Regions from separate parts of the Homo sapiens genome. Here region 1 is linked to region 2. Evidence: promoter capture Hi-C in human tissues and cell types (Jung and others, 2019). All regions are on one chromosome and are shown on one strand. Each heading gives the region's core, a stretch centred on a gene start or on the middle of the fragment in contact. The rest is flanking DNA. Distances are from core to core; before and after follow the strand shown.

The links. The method cuts DNA at HindIII sites, captures the fragments that hold promoters and counts their contacts. A contact is called where the count stands out against the background at its distance.
Region 1: a contact is called between a fragment that was not itself captured here and the fragment with the promoter of TRERF1 in region 2, in 1 of the 25 tissues and cell types used here (dorsolateral prefrontal cortex).

What each region holds. Positions count from the first base shown.
Region 1 is chr6:41,785,716-41,792,186 of GRCh38, reverse strand. It overlaps TOMM6 (translocase of outer mitochondrial membrane 6), which reads right to left and starts at 4,493. Exons shown (of 3, transcript NM_001382294.1): 1 at 4,362-4,493; 2 at 2,851-2,955; 3 at 2,292-2,619. The coding sequence starts at 4,489. The coding sequence ends at 2,859. It overlaps USP49 (ubiquitin specific peptidase 49), which reads left to right. Exons shown (of 8, transcript NM_001286554.2): 8 at 1-2,291. PRICKLE4 (prickle planar cell polarity protein 4) reads right to left here. Exons shown (of 8, transcript NM_013397.6): 7 at 5,855-6,059; 8 at 4,735-5,425. The coding sequence ends at 5,058. RefSeq lists enhancers at 4,046-4,735, 3,806-4,805 and a silencer at 5,426-5,945. The HindIII fragment of the contact is 3,149 bases long and covers 291-3,439 here.
Region 2 is chr6:42,449,369-42,455,272 of GRCh38, reverse strand. TRERF1 (transcriptional regulating factor 1) reads left to right here and starts at 3,347. Exons shown (of 18, transcript NM_001395490.1): 1 at 3,347-3,599; 2 at 4,012-4,096. LOC124900214 (arf-GAP with GTPase, ANK repeat and PH domain-containing protein 2-like) reads right to left here and starts at 2,913. Exons shown (of 4, transcript XM_047419627.1): 1 at 991-2,913; 2 at 358-493. The coding sequence starts at 2,452. The coding sequence ends at 1,355. LOC107986596 (a long non-coding RNA gene) reads right to left here and starts at 2,913. Exons shown (of 5, transcript NR_171668.1): 1 at 2,648-2,913; 2 at 991-1,056; 3 at 358-493. RefSeq lists silencers at 1,893-2,332, 2,803-2,882. The HindIII fragment of the contact is 3,351 bases long and covers 1,384-4,734 here.

The sequences.
Region 1 (6,471 bases), core at 616-3,115, 660 kb after region 2:
CCATGCCCTTTCCCTGGCAGGCGCTGACTGAGATGGCGCTGAGTGAATGTGGAAGGTGCTAAGACCCAGTCTCTTCACTGCAGGGCTGTTTACAGCCAGTTTCTTTTACTCTGACCTTAAGGTTTCCACTGAGCTCATGAAACTTCAACATATGGTGTTTAAAAGTTTCCCACTCAAATGCACACTTGAAAATTGGGTCCCTCAGCCTCATTACTGAACTAAATAAGTGAAGAAGTTGTATCTTTGGGGTAAAACTTTCCAGGGCCACTTAATTTTTTAACCAGTTAAGTACGCATCTTCCTGGTGGTTCAGACTTTTTAAGTCAGTGCTAAAGCTGAAAAGCGCCTTCTAAATATGACTGTGAGTTTAGTTTGTATCTTACATTTAGTAACTGTTCTGTTGGGCCAGGACTATGACTTTAATTACTATGTACTTATTCATCCCACACTCTGCACTAAATACACCATAGCTACTATAGCATTGTGGCAGGCACTCATTTTTGTGGACTCATTCCATACTTCTGCTGGCATATTTCGTTTAAAATCTAGCTAAAGATTTTCATAGTACTGTGTTAACTAGCCAGGGCTGAAAAGTGTGACAGGATATCAAATTGACTTTCCTTGGGGAAAATGTTGCTTTGGCAATAGTGAAGTCCAACTCCTTCATTTACAGAATTAGTGATTACTCATCAATTTTTGAAAGTTGTAGATTAAGTAGTTTTATTTACTAAATTCTTAACCACTTTGAAGATTTAAGCCAGTTGAAATGAAACATTGGCTGGATGCAGTTGGCTAGCACCTGTAATCCCAACACTTTGGGAGGCCAAGGTGGGAGGATTGCTTGAGGCCAGGAGCTCAAGACCAGCCTGGGAAACATAGATTTGAAATCTTTTCAAAAATGTATAAAAATTTAATAAATAAATAAATGAATCCTTACTCAACCATAATTATGGCTTTAAAACCCAACCAACAGTAAACACTTACTTGAAGCCAAAACAGTAAATTTTGAATGAAATTTGAATTATGCTTTTGGAAGCTGCCATGTCTTAATTCTTGCTGGATTTTGATTTTCAATTTTGGAAGTTTTTATCAAAACTGTCCAGTCATGAGTATATCAGGTAGCAGCCTTTAAGGATCTAAGTTTCATTCCTATAAAGAACAGGAGGTGCTGGTATTTCTTGTCTTAGCAAGTGATCTGATGCAGGTCTAAATGGGGGTTAGCATCTATACTATGGCTTAAAAGTTTCCTCCTTGGTCACCATTTGGGAGGTGATGGCTTCAAAGCTAAGCTTTGCTCTCATGTGACCCTTCTTTATCTTAATACCCAATAAGATATAAACCTCTCAGAGTCAACCCAGTGTAGACTCAAAGGGTCTTAGCTTCATCTATCAGATAAGATCTATCTGATTTATACAAAGAATGGTGCTGTTTTTATATACATACTAAAAAAATCTAATTCTCAAACAATTTTCTTAATATTTATGCCAGCAAGGTCAGGAAAGACTATTTTGTCCTGTTTAACTTTAGTAGTGAACAAACTGCTAGAGACATCTGTCATCCTTAACAGGCCACTGTGGTCCTTATATACTGACCCTCCTTTCCAATTAACGTCCTTTAATCCCATACTAGTTCCATAAGAGACTTGGCACATAAAAGCAGTATTTTTTTTAATGCCTAGTAAACTGGCCAGAAAAAAATATTGCCATGGTGGACCTGTTTCTATCCACCTCTTTCTATGGCTATATAAGTCTATACATGCCAGTTCCGTACATACTCCATTTCCAAAGAGCCCCCAAACCCTGGACAGTAGCACTACCATGAATTTTAGGGTCACAAAACATTTCCTTCTGAAGGAAGCAGCTGCCTCAGCAGTGTCACTTTAGTGACCACTGCCCAGGCTTACTTCACTTTGCCTCCCCCTACACATCACTGCCCTCTTTCTGCCACCAAACCTCACTATTCCAGCAATGATGCCTCCCTGGTGTCTGGAAAACCCATCTGGTGCACTAAAATGCTATGCAACACCAAATGGCTTCTTCCCCTAATATTGCTCAACAATGTAAATTCTTCAAGAATAAACTTCATGCTAGGTTAACATCAATGTATGGTTACAGCTTCCTTTTTTTTTTTTCCCTTTTAAAATGAAGCAAACCACCTCCATTAAAATCCATGTTTTGGGGCTTGTTTTTGTCTCTCAAGTGTGAAATATAAATCATGTTTTTATGATTTTTGTAAATCTTTTTACACCTTGTTTTTGTAAGCAAAAGTTTCTTATTAAAAGAATAAAATGACTGCCTTTGTGTGCGGTATTTATTTCAAATGTTTTTTAAAACAGCACTGTTATTTCTCAGGACAAGAGCAAAAATCACCCCCTGCAGAAGCTTGGGAACTATGTACAGAACTTTACAGAATAGAGGCAATACTTTAGCTTAAGCCTGTCTGCTGACCAGAGAATGGAATTCTGCGTGGACTCAAGGAACAAAAGGAAACTAGGCAGGGAAGGGGAAGAAAAGTGCCCATCTGAATCAAACTTCAGCTGCCATCAGGGCACATCTTGTGGTGGTCACAGATTGTAGGCTGTTTTTTGGAAGATTCGGGTTCAGCACAGGATTCCATTTGTCTGCAATCAGATGATAAGACGACAGGTGGCATTAGAACTGTAAAAGTATGGGAGGGAAACTGGTAAGAGATACTTAAATCCCTTTCAACATCTGAAAACACATTTAACTAGGAATAGTTAAGGGTTTTACATCACATTCTTTTGTACATTTCATGAATACTTGACAGAAAACATTGCTTCACCCAGTCTCTAGGTCTCCTAAGACACGCATGGGTGTAGTTCAGTGCTTACCTACTTGGCTACACCCCTGGCTGAGGTGCCATGAGGTCAATGTCACTCAAGTTCCTGGCCAGCCAAACTCCCGCAGCAAAGAGTCCCAAATTTAGTATCAAGTTCCTGGAAAAACAATGTGTTTTATTAACCCTGTGGTCACTGAGTCAGTTGTACAGTTAACGAAATGTACTGGGGGGAAAGGCTTCCATCACCACCTTCCCGAGGCGTTGATACGTGGTTGTGACGGCAGGTTGCTCAAGACCCACGTGGGAATTTGGAGTTCATTTTTGTGCCTAGTAAGTGTAAGGTCAGGCTGGGCGCGGTGGTTCACGCCTGTAATCCCAGCACTTTGGAAGGCCAAGGCAGGCGGATCACGAAGTCAGGAGCTCGAGACCAGCCTGGCCAACATGGTGAAACCCCGTCTCTACTAAAAATACAAAAATTAGCTGGGCGTGGTGGTGCGCGCCTGTAATCCCAGCTACTGGGGAGGCTGAGGCAGGAAAATCGCTTGAACCCGGGAGGCGGAGGCTGCAGTGAGCTGAGGTCCGCCACTACACTCCAGCCTGGGCGACAGAGCGAGGCTGTCTCAAAAAGAAATAAATGTGGCCGGGCGCGGTGGCTCACGCCTGTAATCCCAGCACTTTGGGAGGCAGAGTCGGGTGGATCGAGAAGTCAGGAGTTTGAGACCAGCCTGCCCAAGATGGTGAAACCCCGTCTCTACTAAAAATACAAAAATTAGCTGGGCGTGGTGGCGCGCGCTTGTAATCCCAGCTACTGGGGAGGCTGAGGCAGGAGAATCGCTTGAACCCGGGAGGCAGAAGGGGCAGTGAGCCGAGATTGCGCCTCTGCACTCCAGCCTGGGCGACAGAGTGAGACTCCGTCTCAAAAAAAAAAAAAAAAAAAAAAAAAAAGGCCGGGCGTGGTGGCTCACGCCTGTAATCCCAGCACTTTGGGAGGCCGAGGCGGGCGGATCACGAGGTCAGGAGATCGAGACCATCCTGGATAACACGGTGAAACCCCGTCTCTACTAAAAATACAAAAAATTAGCAGGGCGTGGTGGCGGGCGGCCGTAGTCCCAGCTACTCGGGAGGCTGAGGCAGGAGAATGGCGTGAACCCGGGAGGCGGAGCTTGCAGTGAGCCGAGATCGCGCCACTGCACTCCAGCCTGGGCAACAGAGTGAGACTCCGTCTCAAAAAAAAAAAAAAAACAAAAAAGAAATGTAAGATCAAACGCAAAGCCCAGCTAAAGCACTAGTCCAGGGCCGAAAAAGCCTGTTTACGTGCTAGCACTTCTTCCCTTGATCAGGGTGACATTACAGATACAGCCACATGACAGAAAGATCGCTTTTGCCACACGGGAACTCTCCTGGCCAGGGATCTCAGTGAGGCACAGCCAGAGCTACGAAGACGCCACAATGCTGGTAATGTTAAAAAACAAAAACAAAAAACCCTGAGGCGCCAGCCTCGCAAGAAAGGGGAAATACGGATTTAAGGGCCAGAAAAGGACCAAGTTCCTCGGGCTCGGTTACCTCCGGAAGTCATTCCTATCAGTGGCAAAGCGGTAGACGCCCCGAAGCCAATCTCCCACGTTGTCCGGTATTTCGGGAGTTTCATTAGCCGAGCCAGCAGCGCTCACCGGGACAGTGCTGGAAGCCATAGTGGAAAGCTTCGCATGGGCCTCGGTGGAGGAACCGTATCGGCGTCGCCGGTGAATGACGCACCTCCGGTCTGGCACTTCCGGCTGCTACCGGCCGGCAGTGGGGGCGCTGTTCGCTTAGTCCGACATCCGGAAGAGGGACGGCCCTCTGCTGCGCCTCCACGAACTCTAGGAGGGGAGGAGCGCGGCCCGGTTCTACGGTCCCCTGCTCCCGGTCCCACCTCCGGCTCTCCAGCCGGTAACTGTCACGCGTGCTGTGATCATTTAATTGGCTTGGGAGGAGGATGGTGGGGACGGGGCTGTCCCAGCCTGTGGAGGTGGGGGTAGGGGCTATCTCAGCAGGGGAAGCGTAGCTTTGGGGAATGGGTTTTGCCAAGAAAGTCTCCGCCAAAAGTCTTAGAACGCGCAGTACTGAAGGGGGCGCACTCCAAACTTGTCACCTCGCCGCCTCTTGCGGGCGTGCGCCTGACTGCGTCTCAGTCTAGGATTGTTAGGGGGAGGCTAGCCTTGTTCTCCCGCTTTACAGACCCCTTTCCTCCCACTCACATCCCCTCTCTGAGCTGCGCCACTAGCACATGGTGCAGTGCGTCTTAGAGGCGTTGCTGTCCTCTGCTTGGAGGCTTCCGGGGGTCTTCCAGGACTGGGGAAGGCGCTCGCCTAAGAAAAATCCTTCAGGTTCCGAGTCAGAGGAGGAGGAGCAGGTGGAGAAAGGGGTGTCCTTGGGATCACGAATAGTCTCCAGGCGGCATTGCTCCTGCCCTTTGGGTGCCTCCGCTTTGTCCCCAGGTCGGTTCTCCTGCTGGGGACTGGATCCAGGCAGCCCCCTCTGAGTTTGCAGGCTGGAACCGCCGGCAGCAGCGAGGAGTGTTCGGGAGAGGGTTGCAGAGTTCACCGAGGTTTGGTCCCTTCCTTCAGTTCGGTCGAGTCCAGTCTCCCCTGTTCCGGGCCGGGTCGGAAACGCTGGTCTCAGAGCCGCGGAGCTGGACCTACACCGCAGCTAGTGGGGGTGAGGCCCAGCCTCCCGCCCCGCCCAGCCCCTGGGCCGTGCGCGCCGCCGCCGCCGCCGAGAGTCCTCGCCAGGGTCCCCCGCCTCCACCAGAGGGCGTCCGCCTCCCGCGCCTGGGAGGGAGTCTGGCGCCGCAACCCCGACCGCGGCGCGGGGTGGGTTCGGGCGGCCCTTGGAACGCTCCGGCCAGGGATGCGCGGTGAGAGCTGCGGGCCCCGAGGCTTGGGTCTGGGGGGTGCGGTGGGGGCGCTCCTGGAGGGACGGGACGGCGTGGGACCGGGGCGAGGGTCCCAGCCCGGGAGAACCCCCACAGCCCAGCCCAAGCTCCCTCCCGCTTTGCTCTGCATCCTCTCCCTTACCAAGGAATGCCTGCCCTTCCAGTGCCCCGGCCCAGCTCGAGCCTGCATCCGAGTAGCGGTTCTCGAAGCAGCTGGGGCAGCAGGGGCTTCCCCCAGGCAGGGCATAACGTCCCCCGCCCAGAGGCCCGGCGCAGTCCTGGCAACAGAAGTGGTTCTCATGCCAGCGCTGTCCCTCCGCCTCGGTGCAGCGCCAGGAGAAGATCAGCTGGGAGAGGGAGAGGGAGAGGGGAACGTTTCATTCATTCATTCCCTCATTCATTCATCCAGTAACCACGCCTTTTACCCAGTTAACGCTAAAGCACGTCTGCACACATTCCCATTTAATTCACTCAGCCACTTTTGGACGCAGGGAGGACTGATTGGCTTAGCCAGGATCCCAGCTAGCAAGTGGGACAATCCCCAGTGCGACCTGGGGGTCTGGACTCCCAACCCAGGGCTCCAGGCTTCCTTTTATGCTGACATCAAGGGAATTTCTAGCATGATGAGGCACAGCACTGGGCACTCGGCATCTACTGAGATGAGCATGTGTCCAAGACTCCCTGCTCTAGAGAAATTCGATGAGTCCAGGAACATTTGAGGGACTCTGCAGTGGGGGAGGCCAGAGAGAAGGGCACTGG
Region 2 (5,904 bases), core at 2,098-4,597:
AGCGATCCGCCTACCTCATCCGCCCAAAGCGCTGGGATGACAGGTGTGAGCCACCCCGCCTGGCCCCATAGATATTTTTCTGATGCTTCAATCAGCTAAGACTCTGAGGATCTGATTTTCTAGAGTCCTTTGGAAGGTGGGGGGGGGGCGGGGCGGGGGAGGATACACAACCCTATTCACAAATATTAGTAACTTGCTTTAAACTCTAAGGCCTTACATAAAATAACTCATTTAAACCTCACAATAACACTATGATATGAATACTATCATTCCCATTTTACAGGCAAAGAAACTGAACCAAGCGGTTAAGTAATTTGCCTAAGGTCAGAGCCTGCAGAGCTAACCATCTGGCATTACCATCACTCTGTTGGCAATGAACAGAGCGGGCCAAGCGTGTAGGGTGTAGGGGGTCCTTTGAAGATGACAAAAGCGTCCTTGGCTGTGTAGCCGCAAATCCCAAATCCTTCCTTCTCTGCAGCTTCTGGTTTAGGAGCTGGAAAGACAGGCTGTGAATTTCCACATTGACCTGGGGCAATTAACTTAACTCTCCGAATAGGTTCCTTATCTGCCCCGGGGAGGAGTTTTAGATTAAGAGGGTGTGTGTGTGTGCTGGGAGGGAGGTGGAGGGGCTGAGTTTTCTGGGTGGTGCGGTTTTCCCAAGTCCCGTTTTGAGGTTTTGTCCTAGCCAGCTCCCGCTCAGGTCCCTGGGCGGTGACGGTGGTCAAGCTTAGCTTGGCTGTTCCTCCTCCGCTTGGAAAAAGGCCGCCACTGGGGCCAACTCCGGCCACAGCGCTGCTGCCAGGAGACCTAGGGTAGGTCTTTTCCCCTGAGGTAGAGACCTGGGTGTACCCTCAGGAAGGCATCTTGAAGTTACTGACAGTTGAGTCAAATCTTGAAGGTCCAGCAGGAGTTAGTAAGAAGAGGTGGAAGGGGAAAGGTTAGGCGCCCCCTCCTCCACCCCTTGAACAAAGAAAGCTTGACGGGGCTTACAATATCCGAGGAAGAGCTGGGCGGGTAGAGAGGTCTGTAGAGGCGAAATCACAACTTGGCTTTATTCTAAGGGCAATGGAAGAGGGTTTTGAAGGCTTTAAAATAATGTCATTAGGAGTTTTAGTCGCTTGGGAGGAATGGGTCGGAGGGGGACAGGAAGCTATCGCAGAAAGCAGCCCACTTGGAAGATGACCGAGGACTGAGGAAAGAGGGCGGGGGACATCGAGCATCTGAAGCCTTTCCCAGTCGCCGCAACACTGTGCGCTGTCCCTCGGCTTTCTTTGCTTATGTGGAAGGGCTCCATAAAGGGCTGGGCACGCGCCAAACGCTCATTAAGCGAAATAGCCCGGGTCCCCTCCTCTTTTCAGGGACTCTGTGGTCCACGTGCCCCAGAATTGGTAGGGTAGGCGGGAGGACTTTCCACTGCTGAAGATGGAGAACCGTTACCCCTCAAAAAACACAAAAACCTCGGGTGCTTTTGGCAGCAGTCTCCTCCGCTCATGACCTCATGCTTTAAGCTCCCATATAGCCTCCCTCCGCCCAATCCACACCCAGCGCCCGGGTGGGGGTGGGGTGGGGGACACTGGCGAAGGTCTGGGTAGCGGGAGGTCATTCTTCTTGCGCGACATTTTGGGGGAAGGGGCGCAATGATTTCCCCCACGGAAAAAAATGGATGGTGTAACTTTCTGTCGTGCAAAAAATACTGTCTTGCCCTCGAGACAGATGCCTCGAACCCGGCTCGAGGTGGTCTGTTTAGCTGAACTACCTTTGGTTCACGTTTCCTCTGACCAGGAAAGAAGCTTGGAAATGCAGGGGTCTCAGGCCAGGTTCCCTGACACCTGGGCCGACCACTGCCACGCCTTCTCGGGACCTGGGGGCCGTCCTGCTGTTGCCCTCCGCCCCCGCCCGCGCCGCGGAGGTTTGAACCTTCGGCTCGCCTTTCAGCCCGCGCCCTGCCCCCTGCTCGCAGCTGCTCCCGGTTTGGGTGCAGCGGTTTCCCCCGCAGAGGAGGAGGAGGAGACAGCGCGAGGGAGCGACTCCGGGCTCGGGTTTCCGCACCAATGCCGAGCAGCCCCGGGCGGCCCCCGGTGGCCGTCCCTCCTCCCCGGCACCACGTTCCACAGTCATGGCGCGCGAGGAGGGGCGAGCGCGCGCGGCGGCTGCACCCGCGCCCCCTCTCCTCCCCTCCCCTCCGCCGCCCGGCCCCTCTCCTAGGCAACCCCCCTCCCCGGCCTGCTGCGCCTGCCGCGGCAAGGGAGACCCCTCCCCAGAGAGCTGCTCTTCCAGCGCGGTCTACTGCACCCCTTCCCCGCCCCCATCGGGGCGGAGGGATGGAGACGCGCGCTTCGCGAACCTCCAGCCCCTTCTCCGGAGCCCCAGCCCTCTCCCAGCCCCACCGAGGCCAGGGTGCGGTGGGGGTAGGCGCGGACCGTCTCCTCGCAGCCCGCCTCGACCTCGGCATCTTTGCAAACACTTAGAAAAATAAACAAACCCCCTCACAAACCCCAGTCGTTAGCTTGCAAAGCGTGTTACAATAACCGGGACGGCTACGCAGGAAGCAATCCTGCACTGGTCCGGGTTTAAGGCGGCAGCTTCCCGGCCACGCTGCCTTCTCCCCGGCCTCGATTTTCCGGCCATGCCGGAGGGTCCGCTGCACCTCAGGGCTGACAGGTCCCGCTCGCGCAGGGCCGCAACTGGGCCCGTGTCCCCCGTCCCATCCTCGTCCAGAGACTCGCCAGCCTACAAAAGGTGCAACCTCACGCACACGCAAAGCGCACAAATAAAGTCAGCAGCGCACCGCCGCGAAGGCTGCGAACAATGCGCCGGGCGGCCCGCGCCCGCCGTAGCGCTGCGCCCCGGGGGAAAGGGGACGCGGGCGGGGGCCGAGGCGGACGACCAGCCGGTCGCGGCGCTGGACACCTTACTTCCTGCTTCCCCGCCCGCGGCCAGACCCAGCTCTGCGGAGGGATATCTCCCCTCCTCGGTCCCTCTCCCTCCCTTCCCCCTCCCTTCCCCCGCCCTCCCCCTCTTTTTGCTCCTGCTCCCCCCCCCCACCCCGCCTTTCTCCTTTTGCAAGAAAATAATTTGACAGTCGATTTGCTGACAAGGGAGGAATTTGCATCCTGGATTTAAAAAAAAAAAAAAGGCCGAGAGGAGCTTGGGAACGGTTGCTAGGGGTGGGTAATGGGTGAAAAAAGGGGGGTACCGGGGAGCGGATAAGGAGGGTTAAGGGAGGGGGCGAGGATGGGGAGCAATGCAAAGGTAAGGCCAGGTTACCGCGGCTCGGCCCCGAGTGGGCTGCGACCGGGGGAGGGGCGAGAGATACATATGTATTTCTGTCTCCCCAGCACACCCCCTTCCCTCTAAGCGATGGCTGAGAGGCGGTGCATGCAGATGGGGAGTAAGTTTCCTGAAGGGGAGGGTGGATGCACGCGCGCAGCCCGGCGCTGCAAATTTCCACTGGGGAGGGAGAACGGCTGGATGCGGAGAGTTTGGAGTTGCTTGCGGCGGAGGGCAGGAAGGGGAGCAGGGCTGGGAAAGGGGGCTGGCGGGCGCTATATCTGGGAGTAAGTTTCCAGCATCAGGAGAGCCTGCACGCTTGCTCACTAGTAAGTTTCTGGCCGGGGAGGGCGCATGGGGAGGAGGAGAGGGAGGGGTGCATGTATATAGAAGGGGGGAGGGGGGAGCAGATTTCCTGCGGGGAGGCTGAATGCATATGGAGAGTAGATTTCCTGAAGGGAGGGTGGAGGCGTAGACGGACCGAGTAAGTTTCTTGCTGGGGTGGTGGAGGAGGTGGTGGGTTGGTGCTTTGGAAACCCAAAGCTTCCTACCCTGGGTGGGGGAGCACACTCTTGTCGGGGGGACGAGGGGCCAGGTTCCCTGCTGGGGAGAGGGGCTTGCATCTGGGGAGTATGTTTCCTGGCGGAGCGATATTTGTTTACAGGCTGAGGGCAGTACAGTAAGTGAGTAGCGCTGAGAGAAGGCGGCTGACATAAATTAATATTGAAATTACTCCATCAGCTCTGCTCGCCCCCCATCTCACCCCCCAAGCGGATACTGGTCTTCTCGTCGGATTGCCCATGCACTTGTTGCAGAAACAGCCAAGGTAGGCAAGAAGCTTATTAAGTTTCATTTTTAAAAAATTAGTTTGGGGATGCTCCTCGAGAAGACGGGGGTGGGGCGAAGTGGGGAGGGAAGAGTGGGGAGACAGAAGGAGAAGTCTCCCCCCCCTTTACTTTCACTATGCAAGCAGGCCTTCTCCCTTCTTCCCTTCTTCCCTCTCCGGGCTGCACAGCATCCCAGCAAAGGGGGAGGGATGAGGTGGGCGCTATAATTGGCAACCCTGGCTTAAAGGTAGTGATGGTGGGCTTGCATTTGAGGTTGTGATGTTATAAAGGCTTCATTCTCCAGCTAAGAAACCGCAGGACTCTGCCTTTTGGGGTTTTTGACATGATACATATGTGTATGTATACGCGCCTGCGGGCTCTGTGGGGGCTGGGTACTCCCCAGAAGTTAGTGTGGCCACCCAGATGGGAGAAATGTGTAAGGGGGTAAACCTGTTCCTTCACTCCCCAACTTCAGTTTGGGAGACTGGGAAGTTACTGCCGGTGGTCTTAAGAAACAGATATTAAAAACCAACCAAACCACTCCTTCACCAGCGGAGGCCGAGAGCACCTGGCAGGCAGCCTCTGGCCAGCACTGGACTGGAGCATGTGCGCCTGCCATCCTTAGGTTACAAGAAAACGCTTTCTGGTTCCTCCGTGTGTCTTCTACCGGCCTGTTAGAGCCAGCTTTGTGGAAACTCTTCCCCAGACTAGACGCAGCTTTGGCAAGTGCCAGTACTGAAGGGGATGGCTTCAATTCAGCATGGCCTGGGCTGTCTTGTGAGTGCGTGGAAGTCGTGCTTAGGAATGACCGCCCCTGTAGTGGCTAAAGAGTTCATTAAAAAATATCTCCTGAAAACCGGTCCAGGTGCACTTTTCAGCAGGTCATTGAGGAGAGTTTTAAGAAGGGGAGTTTTAAGTTGTCCCAGTTAGCACCCACCTTCTGCATCACTGACCCTTTTAAGAAAGGAGTTTGGCGATAGGAAGTGTGGTGTTGATGCTCACTGACTGGAGAGGATAACAGCAGGAGTCCTCAGTGCTTAACTAGTTAACCAGCAGCCTTTGCCTCTCCTTGCCTCTGTTTTCTTGGTCCTCAGCCTACTGGTTTCTGCAGAAGAGTTGTAGGTCTTAGCTGTCAGCTACCTTGATGATGCTGGGAGTTTTAACTTTGCTAGGATAATTTTAGCATCTCGGGTCCAACCCGGAGACGTTTAGTAGGGTTAGGGAGTAGCCACTAGGCAGTGGGGTTAACTGAGGTTGGTTAAGCTTTCTGCAATTCTGTAGACAGGCTCTGTTCTAGCAGGGTCGAGAAAAATGGGTTTTAAAAAACTCGCTACACATTGCTGATGGAGAGTGCTTTTTTTCTTTCCTAACTGTCGTCAGATTTCCAGATTGAGGGTTGATATTTGGCAGTTTGAGAGTTGAGTTAGTTGGGAATTAAATATTATTGCTGCTTATCAAATGTTCCTAACTAGGCATTAGTTAAGCAAATTAGCTATTATTTTTACCTGATGAAAATCTGAGTCTGGTTGTTGTATTTGCTGGGAGGGTAAACAAAATCTTTATGTATGTTCATTCCAGGGTGGAATTATTTACATGCCTAGCCTCAGAGCCAAGAGCAGTCATTCAGGTTTTTTTCCTTATATTTATGAGATTTATTTTATTGTCTTGCTTTGGCCATTAATCAAGTCACAGTAGTTTTTTTTTTTTTTCCTCTTCTACCGAGAATGTTCTTGCGGTAATAAAGGCTTGAAGGCCCATGAATCATAATTCGTTCTTTTTAAAATATTGTGGTGATTGTCAGGATCTG